Linked DNA regions of Homo sapiens: region 2 is linked to region 1. Evidence: promoter capture Hi-C in 16 types of primary human blood cells and fetal thymus (Javierre and others, 2016). All regions are on one chromosome and are shown on one strand. The core of a region is centred on a gene start or on the middle of the fragment in contact, and the rest is flanking DNA. Distances in the headings are between cores, read along the strand shown.

Region 1 (5,800 bases), core at 2,822-5,321:
TGCCAGCAGAAGGAGAAATATCTTCAGGCCTGTTTCCCTCTCAGTCCGTGGTGGGGATAAAGGGTACTGAGGTCTAAGGACTGCAGGGTCCAGAGAAAACGAAGCATGGAGAAGAAGCTGGGAGGATGCTGAAGGAGCCAGTATCCTCTGTCAGGACTTGGACAAGGGGTGGGTGGGCCAGAGAAGCAGAAAGAAGTAATGAGACACTAATCACAGCCCTTGGATCCCTCAAGTGTTATCTTACTAAGGCCCTGCCAACACCAACTTCCTCTTTTCCTCATCCTTGTCCCACAAACCCCTGTCAGAGTGACTGCCCCCCTGCCTCTCTCTGCTGGCAGCCCTGGCTCAGCCTTCTATTTCACTCCTGGCCCTTGCACTAGAGTCACAAGTCAACATGTTTGTCTCTCTTTCCACACTGGGATATTTTGAGGCAAGGACTCTGCCAATCCTCACCATGTCCACAGGGCCAATCTTGGGGCTTGATCCAGGAAAACCCTCGGTGAAGGTTTGCTGCGATGTACAGGGTAGGGATGAGGGGATGTGTGTGTGCAAGGACCCATCACTTCTCAAACGAAGAAGAAACAACAGCATGAGGGATTTAGGTTGTATATAAGAAAGAACTTCCTAAGACTGGGGCCTGTGACACTATGAAACCATAATTCAGACCCATAAGTTCTGAAGAGCAAGGTTGCTCAAGATTGGCTATATGTTAAAGGCCTCAAAAAGTTGGGCGATTGTCCGGGCGCAGTGGCTCATGCCTGTAATCCCAGCACTTTGGGAGGCCAAGGTGGGTGGATCACCTGAGGTCGGGAGTTCAAGCCTACATGGTGAAACCCCCAGCTCTACAAAAGATACAAAAAATTAGCCGGGCGTCGTGGTGTGCGCCTGTAATCCCAGCTACTCGGGAGGCTGAGGCAGAAGAACCTCTTGAACCGGGGAGGCGGAGGTTGCAGTGAGCCGAGATTGTGCCATTGCACTCCAGCCTGGGCGACAGGGTGAGACCCCAACTTAAAAAAAAAAAAAAAAAAAAAGGCCGGGTATGGTGGCTCACGCCTATAATCCCAGCACTTTGGGAGGCTGAGACGGGTGGATCACAAGGTCAGGAGATTGAGACCATCCTGGCTAACACGGTGAAACCCCGTCTCTACTAAAAATACAAAAAACTTTGCCAGGTGTAGTGGCGGGTGCCTGTAGTCCCAGCTACTTGGGAGGCTGAGGCAGGAGAATGGCGTGAACCCAGGAGACTGAGCTTGCAGTGAGCCAAGATCGCGCCACAGCCCCAGAGATTCTGATTTAACTGGTCTAAAGTGGAGCCATGGCATTGCAGTTTTTTTTTTTTTTTTCTGAGACAGAGTCTCGCTCTGTTGCCCAGGCTAGAGTGCAGTGGCACGATCTCCGATCACTGCAACCTCTGTCTCCCGGGTTCAAGCACTTCTGCCTCAGCCTCCTGAGTAGCTGGGATTACAGGTGCGTGCCACCACGCCTGGCTAATTTTTGTATTTTCTGTGGAGGCAGGGTTTCACCATGTTGGCCAGGTTGGTCTCCTGACCTCAGGTGATCCACTCACCTCGGCCTCCCAAAGTGCTGGGATTGCAGGCGTGAGCCACCACGCCTGGCTGGCATTGCAGTTTTATCTTATTATTTTTATTTTTTGAAATGGAGTTTCGCTCTTGTCTCCCCGGCTAGAGTGCAATAGCACAATCTCGGCTCACTGCAACCTCCGCCTCCCAGGTTCAAATGATTCTCCTGCCTCAGCCTCTCGAGTAGCTGGGATTACAGGTGCCCGCCACCACGCCCAGCTACTTTTTGTATTTTTAGTAGAGATGGGTTTCACCATGTTGGCCAGGTTGGTCTCAAACTCCTGACCTCAGGCGATCCACCCTCCTCTGCCTCCCAAAGTGCTGGGATTACAGGAGTGAGCCACCGCGCCCAGCTGGCATTGCAGTTTTAAAAGCTCCCCAGGTGATTCGAATGTGCAGCCTGGGTTAAGAACCAGTGCCTTAGATTCTGCCCTGGTTTGGCTGCACTGGTGGTTTTACCACTAGATCCAAATGCTAATACTAATAATAGTTATTTACTTATTGGGATTTACTAGGTACATGCCAATGTACTAAGCACTTTCCATGCGTTAGCTCATGTAATCCTCGAAAAATCCTGTGAAATAAATATTATCTCTGCCTTACAGATGAGGAAACCGAGGTCCAGAGAGGTCAAGGGGCCTGCCTATGCTAATGAATGGCAGGGCCAGGTCTGGAAGCTGATTCTCCTGATTCATACCTTCTGTCTTCCCCCAGACTCCTCCTGAGGCTGCTCCTTGGCCTCAATCAGTCCTCGCCTGCCTCCACCTCACCTCATCACCTTCCCTCCACCCCCGCTGCTCCCTCAGTAACATCCCAGGTGACTGAAGCAATTGCAGCCATTTGAAGAGGCTCCACGTGTCAGTCAGCCTGCGAGCCGCGGGGAGGTGGGGAAATTACAGATGCTCCAAAATAGTGTTCCCCTCCCCCTGAGGATATTTGGAATTCAGGAATCAGACTCTGCCTGATGCTTCCTCAGGTCTCTGGGACCCTCCCAGGTGATTTCCCACTCTCAAATGCCCCCCACGAGTTGATTCTAAGTATCTGGGAGAGGGCTGCCACCCAGTGGCTGCCCGGGGGCATAGCAACCCTCCAGCACTGCCTGGTACCGCTGAACAGCTCCCCAAGACCTGAATGGAAGATCCTCCCTTCCTTTTGGCAGCTCCGTGTCCAGTCCCCTAGTAAATGGATCTCGACCTCCCTCCTCCACAATCTTAAGTCCACTCTCCCACTAGGGACCTCCAGACCCCTTCTCTGGTTTCCTAGATGTCCACTACTCCCAACTTCTCATCCAACTTCTTTCCAATGTGCCATCCCCTTCTCGTTACAGGTTTTCTTCTAACTTAAAGCCCGGCACCATGTCCTAGGAATACACCTCTCACCATCCTTCTCCCCGAGCCGCACCAGCCTGCAAGTAGAGCGAAGGAGCCACTAGAGACAGAACTCTGGTCCCCCGCACCCTCCTCCTCATCATCTGACACCATCAGACCTCAACAGCCTCTGTGCTAAGAGCCCCTAATGAGCATCAGCAAATTAACAACTTCCCCTTGATTGCTCCTTCTCTGTTAATTGGATAGGGAGGGCCCCCCTCCCCAAGGCCTCTCAGAGAAGAGGAGGGAGGCAGGGAAGGAGAAAGGTGAGAGCCACAGGAGCAGCCCCCAGGCCTGCGTTCTGTGCTGAGACTTCTGCTCCATCCCTGAGCATAGCTCCCCGTTCCAACCCTTCCTCACCCTGTCCCCTTCACTCCCTTTGCCTCCTTCCTTCTGTCCAAATTCCCTTGACCTCTGGCTATTTTTCCTTCCTTTTCTCTGCTCCTTCTTTGGAGATTTGGCAGTAAGGGGTTGCGACCATGCCCCCCACAAGCCCAAAGCTACAAGGATGGGATCTGAGTGGTCAAGGCTGCGTGTTGGCTCACATATGTGCACGTGTATATGTGTCACATGCAGGTGGGAGCAGGGATAAGAGCAGGTGAGTGCTTGCCATGTGGGTCAGGCCCCCGGGATACGTGGACATCTGTTGCGGGGGGGTGTGGTTGTGAATGGTGTGGTGTGACTCTGGTCGGTATGTGTGTCTGTCTCCATATGGGCTAAGTGCTTGAATTAGTCAAGTGTGACTCGGAGCGTGTGTGTGTATGTGTGTGTGTACGCGCGTGTGTGCCACCAGAGGAAGCAGCAGCAAGAGGCAGGAGCATCGATCCGAAGGAGACAGCGCGGGGAGAGGGACGCTAGGGGCAGACACCCTCCCTCCTGCGCGCACACACGCGCGCGCGCACACACACCACACACAGAGTCATACACACAAGCCATAGGGCCTCGCAGGCAGGGAGACGGCTCCGGGACTGGAGAGAGGCAGCGCCGCCGAAAGCGGCCGCGAGGAGGGGCGAGGCGGCGCGGGGAGCCCTGGGTCCCGCTCCCGGATCCGGGGCCCCGCGCGCACACCAGCCCAGAGACAGCCTCGCAGACACTCGTAGGCGCGCACGCGCACCCTCTCCCCTCCCCCTCCCCTCCCGCCGCCTCCCGGCCGGACGATGGATCCCTGCAGATCCCAGGGCTGAGAGCACCGCGCACCGCGCCGAGCCCGGGCAGACCGAGCCGAGGCGAGCGAGCCAGCGAGCCAGCGCGCGCGGGCGGGCGGACAGATCGGAGCCGAGCGGGGCCGGGCGGGGCGCTCCCTGCAGGGCTCTGCGCGGCGTGCCGCGGCGGCCGCGGGCTCCGGCCCCGGGCCATGAGCCCCTCCGCGACTCGGCGCTGAGCCCGCCACCGGTCCAGCGCCCCAGGACCCGCCGCCGGCTGCCGGCTTGCCGAAGCCCCCTCAGGTGGGTTTCCGATACCCCTGCCTTTGGCCGCGAGGCTCCTCGGTACCCCGAAGCCGGGACTCTCCTCCCTCTGGATTTCCCTTGCTGCTGGGGCGGCTCGGTGGCTGGGGAGGGGGGCGGGGGCCGAGCTGGGGATCTGACTGCGACGAGAAGCTGGACTGGGGGGGGCTGCGTCCGGGGCGGGGACAGCTCGCTGTCATAGGGAACCGCGCCCCCCCTCCATACATCCACCTCGGGCAGCCCGCCACCCCCCACTCCCAACATACACACAGCCTGCGCTTATGTGAGAACTGGAGACACCCGCAGGTGAGGACTCAGGCTGGGCCCCTCCCTAGATGTAGCCACCTCCCTGGGGGTTTTCTGGCCCCAGTTTAGCCCTTAGGACCACAGCCCCGTCCAGGGAATACCCGTGACCAGGACAGGAGCTCCTTACCCCGGGGTCAGCCCATCTGGGTGAGTTTTCATCTCCAGGATGGGGTGGATATTCTTGTCCCAGAGTGACCCCACATCTGGAGGGAACTCCTGCGCCTGCCTATGGGTGCATCAGGACTTCCCCCTCAACCTCGGATGACTATATCTGGGGTCTCCCCGGGCCTGGGAAGCTTCTCTGGGGAGCATTCTCTTGGCCTGACCTGACCCCCTGTGCCTCTGTATTTGGAGGAACCCTGGATGTGTCCCTTGGTCAGCCACCTCTGGGCTTGCAAAGCAGGGAAGTCTTCTGCCCGAGGAGTGGTGACCTCTGGAGATGAGGATTCTGGATGGGCACATGTGGAGGGGCTCCATGTGTACTTTCATCCCAGGACAATGATAGACTGTCCCTCCCTCCTCCCCCAGGATCCCCTCAACAAGGATGGAACTGAAGGCCGAGGAGGAGGAGGTGGGTGGCGTCCAGCCGGTGAGCATCCAGGCCTTCGCCAGCAGCTCCACACTGCACGGCCTGGCCCACATCTTCTCCTACGAGCGGCTGTCTCTGAAGCGGGCACTGTGGGCCCTGTGCTTCCTGGGCTCCCTGGCTGTGCTGCTGTGTGTGTGCACGGAGCGTGTGCAGTACTACTTCCACTACCACCATGTCACCAAGCTCGACGAGGTGGCTGCCTCTCAGCTTACCTTCCCTGCTGTCACGCTGTGCAACCTCAACGAGTTCCGCTTTAGCCAAGTCTCCAAGAATGACCTGTATCATGCTGGGGAGCTGCTGGCCCTGCTCAACAACAGGTGGGTGGCTCCCACCCTCCCTCAGCCCTGCTCCTGGAGTTGCTTGAGTTCCAGTCAGGATGTCTGCCTCCCTGACCCACCATAGAGCCCAGCCAACCCTGCCCTTTAACCCACCCCCACCCCCAAACCTGCCACTCACAGCAGAGGAGTTAGGGTGCTGCTGAGCACCCAGTTAAGGGCACCCAGCCTCCGATCC
Region 2 (6,455 bases), core at 3,304-5,803, 250 kb before region 1:
GAGCCATCAGCTGACCCCAGCTTCTGCCAGGAGCAGATGAGCCACATCCCCCCAGTCCCACTACAGACCCACAGACCTCGTCCAGACAGCGCTCATAAGTCTCCCGCTGGTTTTCGTTGGCCTGGGCAAGTGCCGAGTTCTCTGCCTGCAGGAGTGAGGGAGGAAGAGGGCAAAAAGGTGGCTTTGGGGATTATTCTTCCCCCAGGGCACATTCCTTTTGGGAAAGGGGAGGCAACTACAGGGGTGCTAACTATACCCCCACTCCAGCTCTTGGCTGTGAGCAGATTCTCATATGAGGAATCCTGCAGAGGCCAAGGGCAGCAGGAGGGCAGGGCTGACCTGGGATGGTTTTCTATAAACCCCGACCTCAGTCAGTGGCAATGGGGGCTCTGGGGGATACAGTGGCCAAGTAGACCTGAGGTGGGAGGTGCCCACAGTAACCCTTATTTCCCTGGGAGACGGGCAGAGGAGGCTTTAGGGAGGATGACAGGGTGTTAAGAATGTGGTGAGGGGTGTGGTCTGAGGATCTGCACCCTTATCCCTCAACTCCTGAGCCATGGGCCATCCAGCCTCTTCCTCTTGTGGCCTCTGACCACCCCCTTTCCTAGAGCCTGCAGAGGCATGAGAGGTAAGGAAGGGAGGTGTTTGGGGGTTAGGACACTCATCCCTGTGCATGCTTCTTGTCCCCGAGCCGTCACTGGGCCGGGCAGCTAAGAGCAAGGAAAGGGCTTCTCAGAGGAGCTTTGCAAAAGAATGTTCTGCTAGCCTCCTGCCTGGCAAAGCAGGCCGAGAGGAAGGCCCATGGCACCCAAAAACCTGCAGGAAGCTCAGAGGGAGGGGCAGCCCTGCCTCCCCAGGGCTCTGGCTGGCACTGCTGCCCCTACCACGCCCCATGCCGCACCTCCAGCTCCCGCAGTCGGTGCAGAAGCTCCTGGCAGGTGCCTGGCTCCATGCTGCCATCATCACCCTCTCCTGGCCTTGGGTTTCCAGGACCCCCAGCTGGCTGGTCCATGGCCTCTGACATCTGGCCCTGGGAACAAGGAAGAGAAGCCCCGGCAGGCTACTCCAGGGAATGAGGAGGAAGTGAGAAGGAGGAGGACAAAGATGAAACCCTTTAGTCTCCTTGGAGCTTAGGTCAGTGTGACCTATATGCATGACACTGTAATAACTCAGGGCCAGGCTGGGTATCTCCTGGTCACGGTCACGGGGCAGACAACACAGATACTCTCCTCATCTTAAGAACAGAGACCATTGTTTTAGAAAGCCCCATACTCACACAAGAAACCTGATTTCTCTACTGGGACTGGCCTCAAGCTGGCACGTCATTCAGCCTCCCTGGGTCTCAGTCCCTCTATTTGTAAAATAACACCAATATCCCCTAATCTCATTCAGTGTTTGCAAACAAAGATTAGGTCTGTGAAAGTGATTTGAAGAAGTTAAAAAAAAACACTTAAAACACAAGACCGTTATTACTCATAACAGTAATAATAATTTAAACTAATTTAACAAGTAAGACAACTAGGATTTTGTCCTGGGCATCGGTGATCCCCTGCCTGGAGCAGGCACATGCTTTAGATAGTGGAGACAATGGATAAAACCCTGGCTTTGCGGCCAAAAGCCTCTGCCTGGCTCTGCTTAGTATGAACTGGGTGAACATATGAAAACCGAGCTCATTCATTCACTCGGTCAACCAGATGATCCTCAGTTTCCTAGTTCTGAGAAATGGGCAGAAGAATTCTTCCTCCCTTACAGGGTCATTGTGAGAGTCAAATGTGACCACGTAGGGAAGAGCACCCTGAGAACACGACTCAGCACATGGGGAGAATACAGTTGAGCCTGGGGCCTGGCGCCCTTAGCTCTAGCTCTGGCTCCAGTGCTCACTTGCTGGGTTATCCCAGGGCAAGGTCCCGATCCCTGGGCCTCAGGCTCCTCCTGGACAAAGTGGGAAGTGCCCTGCACCCCTCCGGGGCTCTGCTTTCTAGCTCCAGCCTCACTAGGCACCCACTGCCCTGGCAGGAGCTAGGCCCCGTCAGATCAGGCTCTTTGTGCACGATGGTCCTTCTGCTGGGGTCTCTTGACACCACCCGCTCCTTTCGACTTGGCCAGCTCCTCCCTATTCATCCTTCAGGGCTCCCAGGCGATGCTCCTGCAAGATTGTACACCAGCCTCCCCCACCAGACAGTCAACTCCGTGAGGGCAGGAACACTGCATTTGCCTCCCCATCCAAACTCACATGCCTCCTGGTGGGATCCCTGGCATGTAGGAGACAGACTGATGACTAGACGAAGCTCATGACCACATCCAGCACGGCCAGGGCTCAGACCTGCATCACACCATGGGATCCTCCCACCCCACCAAACCATTGCCATTGTTGCTAGCTTGAACTGACTAGTCTTCATCTTCCAATTGAGTTCCAATTTCTCTGCTAGAGAAAAATGCTGTTTTTCTTTCATACAAATATTGTGGAGGTTTCCAGTAGATGGGCAACCCTTCCTATTATAAAAGGGTGGAAGCTTGGTCCATCACTGACTACCCCTTGTGCCATTGAAGCCCCCACAAAAGAAAAATGGGGTTGGGCGTGGTGGCTTATGCCTTGTGACCTCAGCACTTTGGGAGGCCAAGGTGGGAGGATGGCTTACGGCTAGGAGTTCAAGCCCAGCCTGGGCAACATACTGAGACCGCATCTACCAAAAGAAAAAAAAAGAAGTGGGAGGATCCCTTGAGCCCTAGAGTTCGAGGCTGCAGTGAGCTATGATCGCCACTGTGCTCAAGCCTGGGCAACAAAGCAAGACCGTTTCAAAACAAAAATAAAAAGGCTTGGAGCTTTTGGACTATAGGAGAGAGGTGTCCTCAGCAGCTCACCATCGAGCCATCTGAGTGCTTGCTTCCTTATCCTCCACAGTGGAGCCCAGGGGTGCCTCTCCCACCCCCAGCATGCACAGGCCCCAAAGCCCCTCACCTGTCTCTGCCCCCTTACGCAGGTGGGCACACTCACTCTAGCATCCAGAACGGTCACCTTGCCTGTGGAGAAAAAAAAAAAGACGTCAGCCACGCACTTACTGGGCTCCTGCTATGTGCCAGGCACTGGGACACGGGACGAACAGCCAGAGACAGCCCAGCCGCTATGATGCTTCCACTCTATTGGACGAGGCCGACAATGTACAGCGTTGGGTTGTGATAAGGCACTGAGAGATGACAATTAAGCAGAGACCTGAATGAAGTCCAGATGAAATCCTGGAATGGGAAAGCATTTGGGACAGCAGAAAGAGCCAGTGCAAAGGTCCCCATCTCTCAGCCAGGAATCATCAGACAACAGAGGAGACTGAAAAGTCACACCTGGTACTTTACAACCCGGTTCTACAACATACATTGTCTTGCCTCGTGCTCAACAGTTAACCACAACAATGTTAAATGCTATTATCAGTGCCTGTGTTTCAGATGAGGAAACCGAGGAACAGAAAGTTACACTTGCACACACTGTGTTTACCCAGTGTGATGAATAGCACAGGCGCTTTCTTCCACACCATCCCATCCAGTTCTCCTAACAACCCTGGAAGGGGAGCACCCGCCTGCGGGAGGAGGCAGGCTCTGGGGCAGAGGATATTGCCCAAGTCACATGACTACTTCACAAAGCACACCAGACAGGCCTAGATTTTCCCACTCCTCTGCACACACCCAAGCTTCACTGTAAGCTCCACAGTAAAACAGACATTTAAGCTCCGTACAGCCCTAAGGCTCCCTGGAGGCTAGAAACTTGGGCTAGAAATCTGACACTAAAGAATCTCTTTTCTCTTGTTCTCACTTGTAAAACAGGGATAAGAACACTTAGCCCAAAGGGTTGTTGGAGGACAAAATGAGATAATATATGTAGAGTGTCTGGCGTGAATTCCATAAATGGAGACTTTTCATATCATCACCTGCTGACAGAGGCACAGTACAAAGCTATGGGGTTGTTGTGGAGCCTGCTGCTACCTTGTCCGTTCACACAGAGGCCGACTCCGAGTCCCAGGGCCCTTACCCAGGGGTCTCCGCTATAGGGGCACCTGAAGATCTCAGAATGCTGCTCTGCCCACCCTGCCCTCAGAGGCCTCCTCTCCAACTCCTCCCAGCCGGCCCTCCAGCCCCAGGGCCAGCCTTGCCTTCCCTCTTCTCTTCTATACCCCAGAAAGAGAAGCAGCTGGATGTTTGGGGGCTGGGATTACAGTGAAAAGAGAGAATGCTTCTTCGTGTGTGTGTGTGTGTGTGTGTGTGTGTACACAACAGTGGGAAGGGGACTTCTGAAAACACTTGGAGGAAAAGGAAGACCTGTTTAATACTGATTTTTTTATTTTTTAAAGAGACAGGGTCTCACCTCACTGCCCAGGCTGGAGTTCAGTGGCACGTTCATAGCTCACTGCATCCTTGGCCTCCTGGGCTCAAGTGATCTCCTGCCTTAGCCTCCCAAGTGGCTGGGATGAGAGGCACGAGTCACTGTGCCTGGCCTCTAATGCTTATTGTTAATACTGTATAATAATCTGAAGTTTTTTATTTTAACATCATAAAAATGTATCATATTTAACTTGGTTTGCTCATAACATTATCACGTTTGATAGACTTAGAAATATACAGGCCTGGAAAAAAAATGAAAAATATTTAAGAATTATCTTCCTTCCCACACTCAAATGGGGTGAAACCCAGAATGTCTCAGGTCACCTCCAGCATCTGACCAGTGCCACCCTCACCCACAACTCTGGTCTCTGGGCCACTGTCCTCCCACTGCCTGCAGCAACCTGCCCATCGGTCCCCAGCGTGTCCCTCAATCCCCTCACCATCAGAGGGGCTAGGGTGTGGCTGAGGTATGCTGTGGAGGAAGAGAAAAAAGTTGGGAGGGTGAGGGAAAGGAATGGGATGAAGAAGGCAGCATTCGGGGTCTGGAAAAGGATAACGCTAAGGACCGGGAAACCCTAAGATTTGTGTTCTTCACAAGAAAGCAACAACGAAACAATGTAGAGTATCTTTTCCCAAAATAATAAAAAAGCATCCAGGTTAAGAGCAAGGCCAGGCTGTGAGGACTGGCTGCGGACTCTCTATGTGTGCACGCAGTGGTTTTCTGTGTTGAGGAGCATGGAGACCCCACACACTCCACACAAAGCCAGGCATGGCCCCGATCCACAGCTGAGCCCCTGTGAATCCCAGGCCAGGAGGCCCGAGTTCCACTGAGAATGGGGGAGACCCTCCGATTTATGAGCCAGCCAGTGGTCACAGTTCTTCTTCTCAGAGTGCCCCAGCTGGAGTGGGGCTAGGACTCAGCCCCTCTTCAGGAGAAATACTTTCTGGCCTCACAGCGAGGGGGTCTGGGGTCAGCCCAGGATGAGGGGGCCTCCTCTGCATCTGCAGGGCCGTCACAGTGGAGGGCAGGAAGCTGTCACGGGGAAGAGACCTGCAGGAAAGCTTGGTGGTGGGGAGGAGCACGGGCCATGAGAGTCGGCCCAGAGTCTGAGTTCAAGATTTCTAAAGAAAACTTCCTGCGTCCTTACCCTTCTCTAGGGAAGGTCAAGATCCAGAGAGAGACCACCACCACCAGCTCCAAATCGAAGCCAAGTCAGGAATGTGGCCCTCTGGAGTCTGGGCTTTCTGCCTGCCTCTCATGGGGGATGCCTGCCCAGGCAGGCTTCGCAGTGGTGGTCCCTGCTGCCTCCCCAGGGGCTGAGCACCGCCTCCTCCCTCAGGACCCACAGCTCCTGCTCACAGCCATGAGCTCAGCCCGACCTGGGGCAGGGAAAACCCCAGGCTTCGGGTTTTTGGAATGGCTCTGGTTTCAGACATTCCTCTGGTGGCCCCAACACGTCTGGGACGCTGGGTCTGGACACACAGTGCCGGCCAGGCAGGGTCTGGGAACTCTAACTTGAACTGGAGGCTTCTCCCGCCGGAATTGCCATCCACAAAGGCCTGATTCTGAGGGAGGTGACCTCAGTGCAGGGGGAGGGAGAGAAGGAGGGGGGAGAAGAGCGGAGTCCTCTCTGGCTCGTCCTTCAGAGGGTGTGGGGAGGGGGCCAGTTTTCAGGCAGCCAGGGCCGAGGAAGGAGGAAACTTGCTCAGGGGTCTCTGGGTAACCTGGGCGACCACCATCTCTTCAGCCAAGTCAGTCACGGAGGGCCCCAGCTCTCCCTTCCCCCTTAAAGCCAGGAGGGGACAGGGGCTTTCAGGGCCTCCAAAGAGATCTTACTGTCCTGGCCTTTCAGTTAGCCAGACCAGAAGGGGTCTGTGGCTCCTACCTCCTCTCCAGCAGGGCACAGGCAAGACCCCTCCCTGAACAGAGACCAGGCATGGGAGGAAGGGGCTGGAGAGGCAGGCGGCAGCAAGCCTGTCCTCATTCCCTCACCCCGGCCCTTAGCCAAGGCCTCCTGGCCCCTGGTGAGCCCCTCATTCACCAGCTGTTCCCCCCAGAGTCCTCTAGGGAGAGAAGCCAGGGACCA

The links. Contacts are between HindIII fragments. The CHiCAGO score rates a contact against its expected background, and 5 or more counts as called.
Region 2: a fragment that was not itself captured here is called in contact with the fragment with the promoter of ASIC1 in region 1 in 1 of 17 cell types (endothelial precursors); the score reaches 5.2 in endothelial precursors.

Annotation. Positions count from the first base shown.
Region 1 is chr12:50,053,525-50,059,324 of GRCh38, forward strand. ASIC1 (acid sensing ion channel subunit 1) reads left to right here and starts at 4,072. Exons shown (of 12, transcript NM_001095.4): 1 at 4,072-4,392; 2 at 5,227-5,604. The coding sequence starts at 5,243. RefSeq lists silencers at 3,875-4,034, 4,105-4,274. The HindIII fragment of the contact is 9,166 bases long and covers 1-4,992 here.
Region 2 is chr12:49,803,021-49,809,475 of GRCh38, forward strand. It overlaps NCKAP5L (NCK associated protein 5 like), which reads right to left. Exons shown (of 13, transcript NM_001037806.4): 2 at 2,960-3,021; 3 at 902-1,060; 4 at 77-145. The coding sequence starts at 1,024. Among named protein-coding and RNA genes, the nearest start is that of NCKAP5L, 22 kb to the right of the region's middle. The HindIII fragment of the contact is 1,750 bases long and covers 3,679-5,428 here.